Linked DNA regions of Homo sapiens: all the other regions are linked to region 1. The links are contacts of gene promoters, found by promoter capture Hi-C in blood cells and fetal thymus (Javierre and others, 2016). All regions are on one chromosome and are shown on one strand. The core of a region is centred on a gene start or on the middle of the fragment in contact, and the rest is flanking DNA. Distances in the headings are between cores, read along the strand shown.

Region 1 (4,755 bases), core at 1,575-4,074:
GAACGTGAGATTTGATTTTATTGGGCTAATAAGTAAAAAGGAGTGCAGGCAGGTGTGGGAGCAAAAGTAAACTGCCTTTTTTCTCCTGGGGATCTGCCCTTCCCACTAAGGCAGAAAACTCCCTAGGGAACATGAGAAAAAATACCGCTGCTCCCGAGCCCGCGGACCCCTTAAGGGCGGGTCTCGGGGGCCTGTGGCCCCGCAGAGCAGGCGTCGGGCTCACTTCCTGGGCGCTGGACGACAGTGGGGACGCGTCCCGAGGCGCTGGGACAGTCTCGCTGCCAGGAGATCGCTCTTCAGTGGCGGCTGAAGACCAGGCTTGCAACCTGCCCTTGAAGTCCAGGACCGAGGGGCCTTTTCCAACAATAAAGGAACTGCTTTTCTTCCCACAGCCCCCGCCCCCGGCCCTCATTTCTTTCCGCACCGGGTTCGATAAAGGCGTTTATTCTTTGGGGAGTGGGCAGCAAATCACCCTCAAGGTTGAAATGGAAGAGGTGTGAGGTTATTTCTGAAGGGCTCGTCTGCCGCATTCATTTCCTCTCTGTGGAAGGTTCGCGCTGAATTGTAATCACTTTAAACTGTGATTTGCCTGATTTTTAAAAACGTGTTTTCAGAGCATCACTTTAAAGAAAACTTGCTTCCTGCCCAAGAATCTTTAAATCCCAAGTGGGAAGAGGAGGGCTGAAAGGCACAGGAGGGGTGCTCAGACTTCCAGATAACCCAGCGCCAGGCAGCGTGCGGCGTGGAGAGCGGGTGGAATGGACAGGAACGCGCACTCCCTGAGGCTCCGTTCCAGCCCATCCGTCACCTGCGGGGCACCAGAGACAGATGCCGGCTCTCCAGCCAAAGGGTGGGCACAGGTTCCTTTAAAATCGAAAGACCCTACTCCCAGGTAAAAAGATGTCAAATCATTCCTTAGCCCAGACGGAATTCAGCACCCAAAGGGTTACACGTGGCTGCCGGGCTCCGGCGCAGGAGAGGGCGCCTCGGCACTCCCAGTAATTCAATTAGTCAGGTTTCTAGAAGGTGGGGCGGGGGAGGGGGTAGGAGGCGTGGGGAAGGGAGATTAGGAAAACGCCTCTTTCTCGTGGAGCAAACCAATCCGGTTGGAGTAAAGAGAGAGGAAAAACCCCCAATCTGTAAGCAAACAGTAGGCCGTTCCCTGACTGGTTGCTCCAGCTATCCCCCCACCGCGCTCCCACCCTTCCCAAGTAAACTGCTTGGAAGGAGGAAAAAAAAAAAAAAAAAAAAAAAGACAGTCCACATGACCCGGGCCGCAGCGGCAGCAGCGCTGGCTGGGCGCGGGCTGGCGGCACCTCCCCCTGCTTCGTCCGGAGCTCACACCCGCGCTCGCGCCGCCCGCCCGTCCCGCGTCCCGCGCAACACGCCCGGGCGGAGCCCCATCCCCCCGCCCACGTCCACGTTCACGCGTGCGGCCTCGCGCTCTGCTGAGGCTGCTGCCACTGGGTCGCCGCCGCTGTCGGCTTTCCACGCAAGTCATTAACGAGGGGGCGTGCCCGAGGAGATTTTTTTTCCCATAAAGCATTTTTTCTCTCGCTCTCTTTTTTTCCCCCTCTTTTGCAAAACTGACTTTTACAAAACCCTTTCCACTTCTTGCCAGTCGTTTCAATTCCTCCTGGGCTGCTCGTGCTGCTGCTGCTGCACTCAAGTTTATTTATTTTCCCGCCTGGGTAGGGGTTTTAGGATTCGGTTTGTGGTTTTCACCTCTGTTGCTGCTGTGCCTAAGGAGGGAAAGAGGAGCAGCTGCGGGAGGATCGGGAAGGTTTTCTGATGTAGTCATCGGGGAGGTGCCACTCGCTCGTGCGCTTTTTTTTTTTCCTCTTTTCCCATTTCAAACTGATTGATGCATCTCTACAAGTTGCTAGGCTTGGACCCGCTGGAGTCGCAGGGACACTTCTGAGAGCTCACCCCGGGCTCTTGGCACCGCGTGTGGGGGCTCAGTCTCCCTCTCGGAAGGCGATCGGAGACTGACATCGGCCCATCCAGGAGTTGGAGGGATCCATTTGAAAGTGATTGTTTCCCCTCCCGCTCTCCAGCCGAACAGTTGGGTTGGCGTCGTCTTGCAGGTTTAGGAATCCCAGCTCTGCCAGGCCGGCTGGTCTTAACCTCTGCTCTTCATTCACTGTGGTGCACCCACACCCAGCCAAGGAAAGCACGCGCGAGAAATCCCCGAGGCTCGGCCAGCCCCCGGGGTGCCCTCTTCCGCTACCGCCGCGTTCCGACTCTGCTGGGGGACCTGCCGGAAGACGCGAAGAGCCAAACTTTTCTTTGAGGTTTTCGAGGCAAGACCGCTTCGAAAGCCGGCGCAGCTGCCGCTTAACCAGTTCCAGGACACCGACAAGGCTGGGTTGCGGCTCCGGATCCCCACCCTTCTCGGCGCACCGCCCGGTACCGCAGCACTTACGACTCCTCTGAGATTTCTGGGGGTCGCCCCGCTAAGGCACAGAGGAGGCTGAGGAAAGGGGTTCTCAGACTCCCGGGACCACAAGCGCGAAGCCCTCTATCAGCACGTCGCCCTTCTCCTGCAGTTTCCCACCGGCCGCCAAAGTAACTTGGAGCGAAGCGTGGCGCAGTGCGAGGGCCCCGGGCGGTGGCGGAGCCGTGCGTAGCCTGCTGCGCCGACGCTGAGCCGGGCCCGGCGGGCCGGTGTATGTCTCCCCGCGGCTGCGGCGCGCAACTCCCGGTGACTGTGCAGCGCGCGCCGCCGCCTGCCCCGACCCGCGCTGCAGCCGCCCGGCCCGGCGCGCACCTCCCTCTCCCGGGGTGACCGGCCTGCCGCCGCCGCCCGAGACACAGCTTGGCACCTCTTCCCCCGCCCTCGCCGCCGCCACCACACACACGCACGCTTCTCTCCATCTTGTGATTCCTTTTTCCTCCTGAACCCTCCAGTGGGGGTGCGAGTTTGTCTTTATCACCCCCCATCCCACCGCCTTCTTTTCTTCTCGCTCTCCTACCCCTCCCCAGCTTGGTGGGCGCCTCTTTCCTTTCTCGCCCACTTTCATTTTTATTTATTCATATTTATTTGGCGCCCGCTCTCTCTCTGTCCCTTTGCCTGCCTCCCTCCCTCCGGATCCCCGCTCTCTCCCCGGAGTGGCGCGTCGGGGGCTCCGCCGCTGGCCAGGCGTGATGTTGCACGTGGAGATGTTGACGCTGGTGTTTCTGGTGCTCTGGATGTGTGTGTTCAGCCAGGACCCGGGCTCCAAGGCCGTCGCCGACCGCTACGCTGTCTACTGGAACAGCAGCAACCCCAGGTAAGCCGATAACAGGCGGAGAGCCAGGGCTACCCGGGCCTCGGGGCCCTGCGGAAGGAGCGGCGGCGGGGATCGGCGCGCACCAACCGCTGGCGGCGCGCACCCTCGGAGCCTGCGTCGCCCGGGCGCTGATGGCTTGAGGCGTCGGCGGGAAGCGCTCGCGTCGCGCCCCTCTTTGTTAAGCCGCCGCGGAAAGGCCAGGTACCCCTGGGAGTCCCCGGGGCTGCCTAGACCAACTGCTTCTGCGGGGCGCCGGGAGACTCGGAAAAGGGCGGGAGCCGGGGAGTAGGGACTTCTCTGCTTCCCAGCCCCGGCATCTGGCTGGCATCCGGTTCCCGGCGCGGGGAGCCCCCAGTGTGCGCAGCCGGGAGCTCCTTCCTGGAGCGTGGGTCCGCAGGGACTGCGGAGAGAACCCGCCAAACATCCCCCAAAGTTTTTTTTTTTTTTTTTTTTTTTTTAATTTTAATTTTCCCTTCTCTTTTCCCGGTGCGCGCAGAGAGAGCGCACGGGCTGGGGGAAGTGAGGGGGGCTGGGAAGCGGAAGCTTTAGGTTTTTATTTTCCTCTTCAACTGCGAGGAAATCATTCGGCCCCTGAGTCAGTCTGGGCCCGGCGCGCCTGGCAGTGGAGAGGATTCTCCCATCTTCTCCATCCCTCCACCCACCCCAGTGGGTTCAAGGTGCCAGAAAGTTTGATCTAATGCCGGGTTACGTCATGTGTGCAGAACAAGCTGCCAGAGTTGGCCGAGCCAGGAGGTGGGAGCCCTTCGCCCGCGGCCTGGCGATGTGCTGCCGGAGGAACGCGCGCGATTACCTGGAACCGATTTGTAGGCGTCCCGAAGCCCGCCGGGTATGCGGGAGACTAGAGGTGGGCGCCGGGGGCGGTCCTAGTGCGCGTGCTGGACACCGGCCAGTCGCAGACGTCCCGTGTTTTCGGACCCTGGAAGTGGAGTGGGGAGGTTATCCAGAGTGCCCGGCGGGGTCCTCCGGGTCTGGAGCAGTTCCGAACCTTTATTGCTTCCCGGCCTGTGCACAGAAGTCGGCCCCGCTAGGCCCATACCGCACTGCTTTCTCTGGGACAGAGGCTAGCTTCCAGCTGTGTGCCGGTCTCGGTGCCCTCCTAGGTGCTATTTATTAATAGTACCGATTGCATCTAAAGTCACAGGTTTTTCACTGGGCTGGAGTGGAAGTTGGGAAGAGAGAGGCGGGAGGCCGAGGGGTTAGCCTAAGAGTTGGTGCGCGCCCCGGGCTCCAGGAGAGAGGGTATCGGTGGGCGCCTCCAGTTTTTTCTATCTCCTGCGGGCCCTCTCCGCCTGCCTCCAGCCTCCCCTCAGCATGCAGGCAAGAGAGGGATTCCCTGCTTGAATAATGTCAGCGCAGATGAAGATGGGAAGATTTCCCCACAAGCAGTCCGCCGGTTACAGAACCAGGAGGGAGTTCCCCCTATCCCGCTAGTCCAAGATAGTCTTACTCAGGTAGCCGCCCA
Region 2 (4,755 bases), core at 864-3,363, 4.1 Mb after region 1:
GTGTGCTTATCAGATTTCCCTATCAACAGTAAGAAAAAAAAAATAACTGAAAACTTCTTTGAAACATATTCATGAAAATAATTATTTTTTAAAAAATTCTAAAGTTTCTTATTTTAATAAGAAATTTAACCTTTGAATAATAGACAGCTTTTGGATTGTCTGTCCAATCTTCTTTCTACAAATTTCTCCTCCTACCTCCCCTAATCCATAGAGATTAAAATTCTGTGATTTAAATTACATAGTGGGTCACTTACAGCCTACCAGCTGGTGCTTCTGTCTTTTGGGAAATCAGAATTGGGATTCAGAAAGGATGGTCGAGTCTTTGATGTTTTCTAAAGTTGAGACAGGTAAACTCAGGGGCTATGGTGCTGTCACTGAGTACCAAATGAATGAAAAAGCAGGGAAAAATGACCATTTGAAAAGAGCAAAGAAGGAAACACACACATAGAAATAAGGAAAGAAGAAAATCCAGAAAGAGACAGAGAGTAATAGTAATGCCTGACAACTTTCTAGTTCCACATGAACACAGCAGTACTTCTACCCGTAGGTTCTACAACATTCCCCTGTATCCATATAAACCCTTCTCCATTGTAATACACTAGATTGCTGTGGGATGTTATTTCTTGAAGCCAAAAATCTTGACTCCAATAAGATGTTAACATTACAAAAATACAGGGAAAATTTTGATACAAAAAAAATTAGAATCCCAGCCAACAATAAAAAAAGCTGAAAAATGTAGCTATTACCCATGAGATACAATTTTAGATATAAGTGTGCATGCACGTGCACACATGCACACACACACACACACACACACACACACAAAACTGAAATATTTATCTTAAGCAGGGTCCATGCCTAGGAATTATAATGGTGTTTGTAGTAGATTGTGATATTATTTCAAAATATTAACTGCTTCTCATGACTTGCTTTGGTCAGTCCAAAATAAGCCCAAGTGACTTGTGGCATTGCCAAGCAGGAACCTTAATGCCACCTTGGCTTTCCTTTCCCTAGACCATACAAGAAAGAACAACAATGTAAGGTTGTGTTACAATAATGTGAGACTGTGTTACATGTCAATCTGCAATAGACATATAACATGAAATCAATCTATTTTGTTGTCACTGAAATTTAGAGGTCGATTGTCACTGCAGTATAACCTGGTAAAAACTGGTACATGTCTAAAATATTCTCATTATTAAAATGCTAATGGGTAAGAAAGTAAATATTTCATTTTGAAGTCCATTTGTTATTGCTAATAAGCTTATATTTTAAATAAGCTCTTTTAATTTTCAAGGTATCCTGCTGTTAATGATTTTAGGGGTCTTTACACAAATTAATTACCAAATGATATATTTATCACTTCCTCCACGTTTTTAAGAATTGCCAATACAGTTATCAAAAATACATATTTCTTCTTAAAACATATTTCAAAAACATTCTAATTTTAGTATATAGACTATATCTACTAATTTTAGTATATAGACTATATCTACTAATTTTAGTATATAGACTATATCTACTAATTTTAGTATATAGACTATATCTACTAATTTTAGTAGATAGACTATATCTACTAATTTTAGTAGATAGACTATATCTACTAATTTTAGTAGATAGACTATATCTACTAATTTTAGTAGATAGACTATATCTACTAATTTTAGTAGATAGACTATATCTACTAATTTTAGTATATAGACTATATCTACTAATTTTAGTAGATAGACTATACTAATTTTAGTAGATAGACTATACATACTAATTTTTGTATATAGACTATACTAAGTTCTAATTTTCCAATTTTAGTATATAGACTGTACTAAAAACTGAATGTTATAAAACTTATTAAAACATATCAATTGAGAAAAAGGTCTTGACACATTTTATATGGTCCTTACTTATTATGAAAACAACCTGATGCCAAGGATTCTGAGTCTTTCAAATAGTATAAACTAAAGCAATTGTTAATACTTATCCTACTTTCTTTGTTATTTTATAACACCAGTGACTTTAAGTTCTTATACAATCTAGATATTAACTCTACTTTTGTGTAAGTACCTTTTTCTTAAGACAATGTCATTTTTAATAGAGTTTTGGTAACTAGAAATAGTTAATAAATAAATATAAATTAGACATGAGGCCAATTCTATACATCCTGCCACTATGATTAACTGTGTGACCTCAGGTAAGGCATTTTACTTCTCTAAGCCAGTGAGCCTTCATCAGAAAAATGAAGATAATTAACTGTACCTACTGCATAATGAAGGAACCAGATAACACAATGTATGTTGTAATCTCTTAAATGTATTATAATTATTATTACTTACAACTGTATTAACCCTACAAGATACCTTGAGATGACCAGAATTTATATATCAAAGGTCAAAATCCAATGCTATATAATGTATTGCTATAACTCCTTATCTAAAAGAAGGGCCACATGATCACAACAGAGGCAGCAGTGATGGTTGCATACAATTTCTACAAACTTTAGTATGTACTTTAAACTGTTCAAGTGCCAAGTCATTTTGGAGACTAGGAGACTATCTCTACTTCTTTACTAACCCCACCATTACAACCACAATAAACCATGTTAATGAGAGAATTTATTCACGCAATTCACTTTTTAATTCTAGGTGCTCACTGAATAAACACTATCCCATCTCTTTTTTCTCTCTTTTTTTTTTTTTTTTTTGAGATGGACTCTCACTCTGTCACCCAGGCTGGAGTGCAGTGGGGCGATCTCCGCTCACTTCAACCTCTGCCTCCCAGGTTCAAGTGATTCTCCTGCCTCAGCCTTCCAAGTAGCTGGGATTACAAGCGCGTGCCACCACACCCAGCTAACTTTTTTTTGTAACACTCTCCCATTTCAACAACAAAAATACATTAATGTCCATAACAATAAAGAGATTAGAAAATAACTCCAGTGTTGTTTAAATTACATATGGTAATAAGCTTTTTGCATGTGTTTACTTATTTAATCTTCATAACAATTCTATGAGAAAGTTATTAATTATTCTATTATTCTGATTTTAAAAACAGAAACTGAGGGACAGATTAAGTGCCCCTAAACAACAACTTATAAGTAGCAAGGCCAGGTTTTGAACCTAGGCAAGCAGTATTGAAACTCCACTTCAACCAAATATTATTACACCTATATGGTTGAAGCAAAAAAGAATTTGGGGAAGAAATAAAACACAGTTATGCCAGGAAAACAAAAGAAAAGAAAATATTATTTCATTAGTGCACATCAAGTATATCTTTTAAGTAATTCCATTCACTTGAATTATTGAACTTTCATATTGGTAAAAATCTTGTGAAGGCCATCAACTAATACAAACATTGTTCATCTAAATCCATTACTTCCATTGCTACAATTTGTTTCTTTCATTGTTACTTTAACTTTGGAGAGTTCATTTTTATTTTACTTATGGGGGTGAGAAATTTTATCTGTGAGCCAGATTCTCTCCTTGATAATGAAAATGGACAGTTGGAAAAGCTAAAATCAAGAACAAATTAATGTACAGTAACTGTAACACTATAAATAACAGCTACAGCCTCAAAAGCAGATAATGGATACAGCACAGTACTATACAAGCATGCACCTGGAATGTATACATAAAGCATGTTTCTATTGTATCTCTTTAAGAATGAATATTTTTAAATGACAATGTATAAAACGTCCCAGGGAATGACCTATATAAATATATAACAACTTTGTGCAAATATTTAATGAAAGAAATATATTTTAGATTCTGATTTGAATGCCACTGACAATCTCTTGCAAGCTATTACTTTTATAAATATGGCATTCCATTTAAATAGAGAAATTTCAATTCATGATTTCAGCAATCATTTACTAGCTGGCAAAAAAAATTTTCCCAAATTTGAATCATATTTGAAAATGTCAAGAAAGAATCACAAGATTCAGTTTCATTTAAATAAATTTGACATATTCAAAAACTTGGAGCTTTTAAATTTAAAGAAATAAAAAACAAAGTATCCTAGCCCTAATATAAGATGAAGGTGACAAAAATCCATAATTTTCAAGAGAAAAGAGTCAACTATTTCTAAGGAAACTATTTGACTTCTTAGGAACACTAGTTTGTCTAAAATAAGCCTAGATTTTATGATTGGCCCATTATAAAAATATAGATCTCATATATTTAATTCTAATTTGTCAAATGAGAAAATTCAGATACTAAATATAAAAGAAGAGCCCTTATATCTTTATATCAAAATTTGCACAAAACACGTAATCAAAAGAATGGAAATTTGACTATATCAACACACCACAAAATAATTACCACAGTGAGTCAAATGGATAAATATTAGTTTCCATAAATCCTCAAAACAACTTTCACTGGTACTTCAAACTAAAAAACTAAAACAATGATTGGCAAATGTCTACACTTGAACTTTAAAAAAGGCTTGATGAGGATCATATTTTTTTTCTAGAATATATCTGTTGCTTTTCTCACAGTATCAATAAGCCCTAAGGGGCATCTATACACATTTCTAAGTTTCAATAATAGCCAAAGTATTAAATAACTAATCCGGCATAAAGCACTATTCCAAAGTAGAGTGTTTGGCCAATATACCTCTTCAGAGAGATACTGTAATTGCTTCACTCTACTTTCAATAAACGATCTATAATGAAAGTTGCTTTTTAGGCTTAACCTAGAGCTGTGCCCTGTGGGAAAAGATTGAGTCTTTGTAAAATGTGTTACAGTTTACTAATAAGAATGCAGA
Region 3 (4,755 bases), core at 1,062-3,561, 3.9 Mb after region 1:
AATATGTTACTATTTTAGAAAATATCTCATTATAAGTACCTGTTAAAGTTGTAATTTTTTAGGCAACAAAATTCATTCAAATAAGACTCAAAATTTTAATATTATCATAGAAAAGAGAGACTATTTCCAAAATCTTGGACAAAGAACAATTCCCTCTATCAGAGAACATTATCTTCATCTATTTTACTCTACTAAACAGCTTGGTGGAAAGAGATGAGAGTGAAGAGTGGCCATAAAAAAGAGATACTCTTTCAGCCAGCTAGTAAGTTAAAATCGTGTATTTATTTGAGCACCAAAGTGAAGCCATATTGCCCTGCTATCTGACCTAACTTTGAATATATACATAGAACATGTATTTTAACTAATAGAAAATCCAGATGGGTCAGCAGTTAGAAGGCTGGGCAAACACTCAAAAGGTAGCAGGGACCTAGTTGTCAAAATCAAGTTGATAAGTAAAATTCTAGTAATTTGAAGGTAAAAGGAGAAGGGAGAAGGGAGACTGCCAAGAATCCAGCCCTTCATGGGCACTGCATGAGGTCCAAGACAGAAATGCAGGCATGTAGGAAAATAAAATTCAGATAAGGACTGGAAAAATATCTTCCAAGATGATTTAATGGTAAGTCTCAAAAATTAGACCTCTTTAAATACCTGCTACCCAAGGTAAGGAATAGACTGTAGATAGCAACGAAGCTACAGCTATGGGTGAAGGTCAAATGGCGCCAATTTGAGAAAAACTTCAATGTCTTTTGACATCCTGGAATGGAAAGCTTGCTTGGCAGAATACTACTCAATGGAAAGAATACTAGCAGCATCTAGTGGCTGGCCTCTGTAAGTGCCCCTGGGCCTAGGTCCTAAGGTAGAAAAAGTGAGATCGTAAACATGGTGAGCTATTGATAGACTTTAATGTATTTCTTATTTCTAGGAGAATGACAGTAGAAGTAAGGGCAATTGTCTACACTACCACTTTCAAAGTATCATGGGAAACATAAAGAAGCATAAGGTATTCAAATAGTTTAACAGAACTCTGTTCCTGCTATAATTTACTCTGTTAGACCAAATCAGCAAAGTATGGCTGAGCATACTTACCTTTTCATATTTTTTATCAATCTACATATAGCATTAAAGTAATAAATAATTAATTTAGAAAGAATAACCTATGACATAATTCCTGTGCTCAAACTACATATGGTTATAGAGCCTGCTTGGATTCTACTTCCAGATCTACAACTGGTATTTTTCACTTACTTATTGCTGAAGTAGTCTCCATATTGTAATATTACATGGAAGAAGGATTTTCTTACTGTTTGGTATTTACCGTTTTAAATTATTTACGCTTAGTGATCAATATATGATTTTGATCAAAATCAAATGGTGATCAACATGATTTATCCTAAATGTTCTGAGAATCATTAAGACAAATTATTTGGTAGAAGTATTCTATTGAAGAAACAACTCTATGACAATTTTGCCAAATATCTGGGCATGATAGGGCATCAGTGTAGTTTTTCAAAGGAATGCACATTTAACAAAATATCAAAAGGATCTTAAGTGGATGGAAGAATCTTCTAACAAAGGAGTGTTAGATAGCTGAAAAAAATCAGTTAATTAAGCTCCCCTTTAAAGATAGAAAAGAAATAGAAATTACTTGAATTTTCATTTACTTGGCTGTTTTTAAAATATTAACAAGTCAGTTAAATCTCACCTCTAACTGCTATATTAGAATTTAGCTTTGATAAATAAGGATCATTCTTTTTCTGAATGCAGCAGAGTTGCAAGTTTCTTGTTAAAGCCTTTTAGAAGGTAGTTTTTTTTTTTTAATTCACAGCTCACTTCTCTTCTTTTCTTAATTAGTAGCTTGAATGTGATTTTCCCTTTTTAAAATTGAGCAGGCTGTGTTGCTAAATGGTGTTTTTGACATTCCTGCACTGGGGACAGATTCAAAACAGAGGCAGAAGACAATAGAGATTGACTACATACTTCATGGACCCAAATCGAGGCAAATGCTGGTAATTACAGGAATTCAGCAACACTTTGTTTGCTGGCATCTGTACTTGGAAAAGCAATGAAATAATCATGGACAAATATGATGTGAAATGTGTTTATGGAGCAGCATGTTTTATTAACACTGAGCACTGCGGAGAGATAAGCACCACTTGCTAATTTTAAAATTTCTATGAACTGTGGCAATTAAGCCTAATAATTATTTAAAGACTATAATAAAGATGAGACCATTTTGAACTGCGTTTAGAGAAAAGAAAAAGTGCTCAAGTTCAGTTTGTATGATACATCACCTATGCAATTTTTCCTATCTGTTATGATTTGAAATGGGAAACATTTCCTGACACATTCCCCTGAAATTTAAGGATTTATCAGTTTTCATTTTGCTGCTTTGTTAATTTTTTCTTGTTTTTGTTGTTGTTGTAACTATTTACTGGGAGTCTTTTGTACCTAGATGTTAATTTTATAGAGTGTTTCCAAACATTCTGGGGGCCATCAGAAAACAATAGGTCTAATTGAATAAAGCATTAAATATATTAACTTTTTCTTTCAGAATAGCAATTTTTCCACTTACAGATTATAATAAATAACAACAGGAAAGGCAGTGATTTTTCTGAGTCCTTTAGTGGCAAACTATTTCCAAAGTTTCAAAGAGACTTGTTAGAGCCCTGGGCAGAGTACAACACTGTCTTTCACTGTGTTAGCCCAGTGATAACAAAAACAGACTGGACATCAAAGCAACCAGAACGAACGCTGCAGGATTTAAAACACAAACAGACAGGAAATTGAATTACTGATCATTAATATTTATTTTAAAGAAAAGTTTAATATATTTCGCTTAATTTCCTGTGGAGAAAACAAAACATTTTATTCTCTCTTTTTGCCCCTCCATATTCTTATGCTATCCTTTGCAATTCGTTGTCATTTCTTGAGTTATTTTAAAAGATAAACTTGCACATTTTACTTTGCAGCATAATAAAATTAACGAATAGCTATGTTCTGAGTATAAACAAGGGAATGCCAAGGTTCATTCATCTCTCTTCTTCCCTCACAAAATAAGTTTATTATGGCATTTATACTGAAAGAAAATCATTTCTTTGGCACAGAAAAGGGATGCTGCCAATAATTACTTCTGAATCAGATTTCTGTCAATAGAAATGGAATATGATTGCCCCACCATCACCCCATAACAACAACAACAACAACAAAACCAGATGAGTTGATTAGCAACCCTGTGTCTATTGATTACATTCTTCTTGAACTGTCAGCAAGATCATTCCAAAATGTTGGTACGTATTCCCTAGTTGCAAAAGCAAATTCTGTAAAAAGGAACACGGAAAAACGGATTGTGTCAGTAGCGTATTTTCAATGCCTCTCTTTTTTATTTGCACTCACATAGCTGAAGAGGAACAGAGCTGGCTTTGGGCAGAAAGATGAAGTAGGAAATTTACACCCAGCTTTTTTCTGTGGTCTCTAATCTTCCTGAGTTGTGAATTTATCCCACTTCCAAACCTCCAATCCCTCACTGCCCCCACCCTCAACACATATACTTCAAACTCTCCTCTTTGTTTTAAAGTTAAAGGCTTAGAGCAATTTTTGACTCCCAACACAAATGATTCTAAGTCAAAAACTGATTTTTCCTGAGACGTGCATTTTAATTCAAATTTCTGTTTGTGGAATATAAAAATCATGTCCGGTTAGAGACAGGGAAAGGTGAAGTTATTGTTCAAAGACAAAAAGGTAAAGCTCAAAGTGGGAATAGGTTAGATTTCTGGGATGAAGTTCAGGCAGGTCTTTTTGTTTTGCCAAAAAAAATTTTACCAGCCACCTCTCAGACTGATTCTGAAGGCAAGCTTAATTCAGTTGTATCAGAGAAATGGGGAAAAAAAAAACAAAAACAAAAACAAAAAAAGTGTGCAGTACATGTGGGAAACCCACACACTTAATCTCATGTTGTCGCAAATTCAATGGGGCTCGTCCCATTAGAAAAGAAAAAAAAAGAATAAAAGAAGGAGGAAGGAAGAAAGCAAAGAAAGAAAGGCAGGGGGAAATTACTCCTCACCAGGAGCTATGAGGCTATGAAAGAAACATGAAGCATAATATGTTTCTTCCAACTCTAATAGACCCTAATTCCTGAGTCTTACTCAGAAATTAGTTCTGAAGTCTGTTAACATGCAGAAAATCATGTAGAATCCACATTACATTGGATATGTCATAAAATTATTATGTCAATAATTTTGCTCAATTACATATGTTTTCAGTAAATTCAACACTAACCCTTCGTGGTCGTTTTTTCCCCTACAGTTTTCAAGTCAAGTTACTGTCTCTTAGTTGAGTACTGATGAAGTTTAAGAGTTATGTTGTATGGAAAATATTTGCTTTGATCCTTCTCAGTGTTGCGATGTGCCCACACTGTAAGAGGAATGAGGCAACTGAACTAGAGAGAAAGTAGACTCATAGCTCACATTGTGCTGTGCACAATATTACTGAGTGAAGTAGCTGGCAAAATTGCTTACATTTATAGCCATGGAATCTGGAAGCTGCCCTCCTAGAAAACTGGCTTATCAGCCCTGATCTAGCATGGTGATTTAACTATTCCTCCAACAGAAGCCACCCACAGGTTCTTGACTCAGAACTCTCTTTAAGGCAGTTCTAAACCTTAGTCATCCAAGGCTTTTAACGACCAAGACTTTATCTATTTATTTGTTTATTTTATTTTTTGGAGACTGAGTTTTGCTCTTGTTGCCCATGCTGGAG

Evidence for each region. The method cuts DNA at HindIII sites, captures the fragments that hold promoters and counts their contacts. A CHiCAGO score of 5 or more calls a contact.
Region 2: a contact is called between a fragment that was not itself captured here and the fragment with the promoter of EFNA5 in region 1, in 2 of 17 cell types (M2 macrophages and M0 macrophages). The highest score is 10.9, in M2 macrophages.
Region 3: a fragment that was not itself captured here is called in contact with the fragment with the promoter of EFNA5 in region 1 in 1 of 17 cell types (endothelial precursors); the score reaches 5.5 in endothelial precursors.

Annotation. Positions count from the first base shown.
Region 1 is chr5:107,669,006-107,673,760 of GRCh38, reverse strand. EFNA5 (ephrin A5) reads left to right here and starts at 2,824. Exons shown (of 5, transcript NM_001962.3): 1 at 2,824-3,272. The coding sequence starts at 3,148. RefSeq lists enhancers at 21-70, 1-471, 2,212-2,351, 3,062-3,191, 3,592-3,671 and silencers at 1,312-1,381, 2,742-2,791, 3,362-3,431. The HindIII fragment of the contact is 4,319 bases long and covers 1-3,817 here.
Region 2 is chr5:103,576,918-103,581,672 of GRCh38, reverse strand. No RefSeq gene overlaps it. Among named protein-coding and RNA genes, the nearest start is that of NUDT12, 17 kb to the right of the region's middle. The HindIII fragment of the contact is 1,695 bases long and covers 1,266-2,960 here.
Region 3 is chr5:103,804,722-103,809,476 of GRCh38, reverse strand. The region is part of intron 2 of LOC105379107 (a long non-coding RNA gene); the gene reads right to left. Among named protein-coding and RNA genes, the nearest start is that of NUDT12, 240 kb to the right of the region's middle. The HindIII fragment of the contact is 3,084 bases long and covers 770-3,853 here.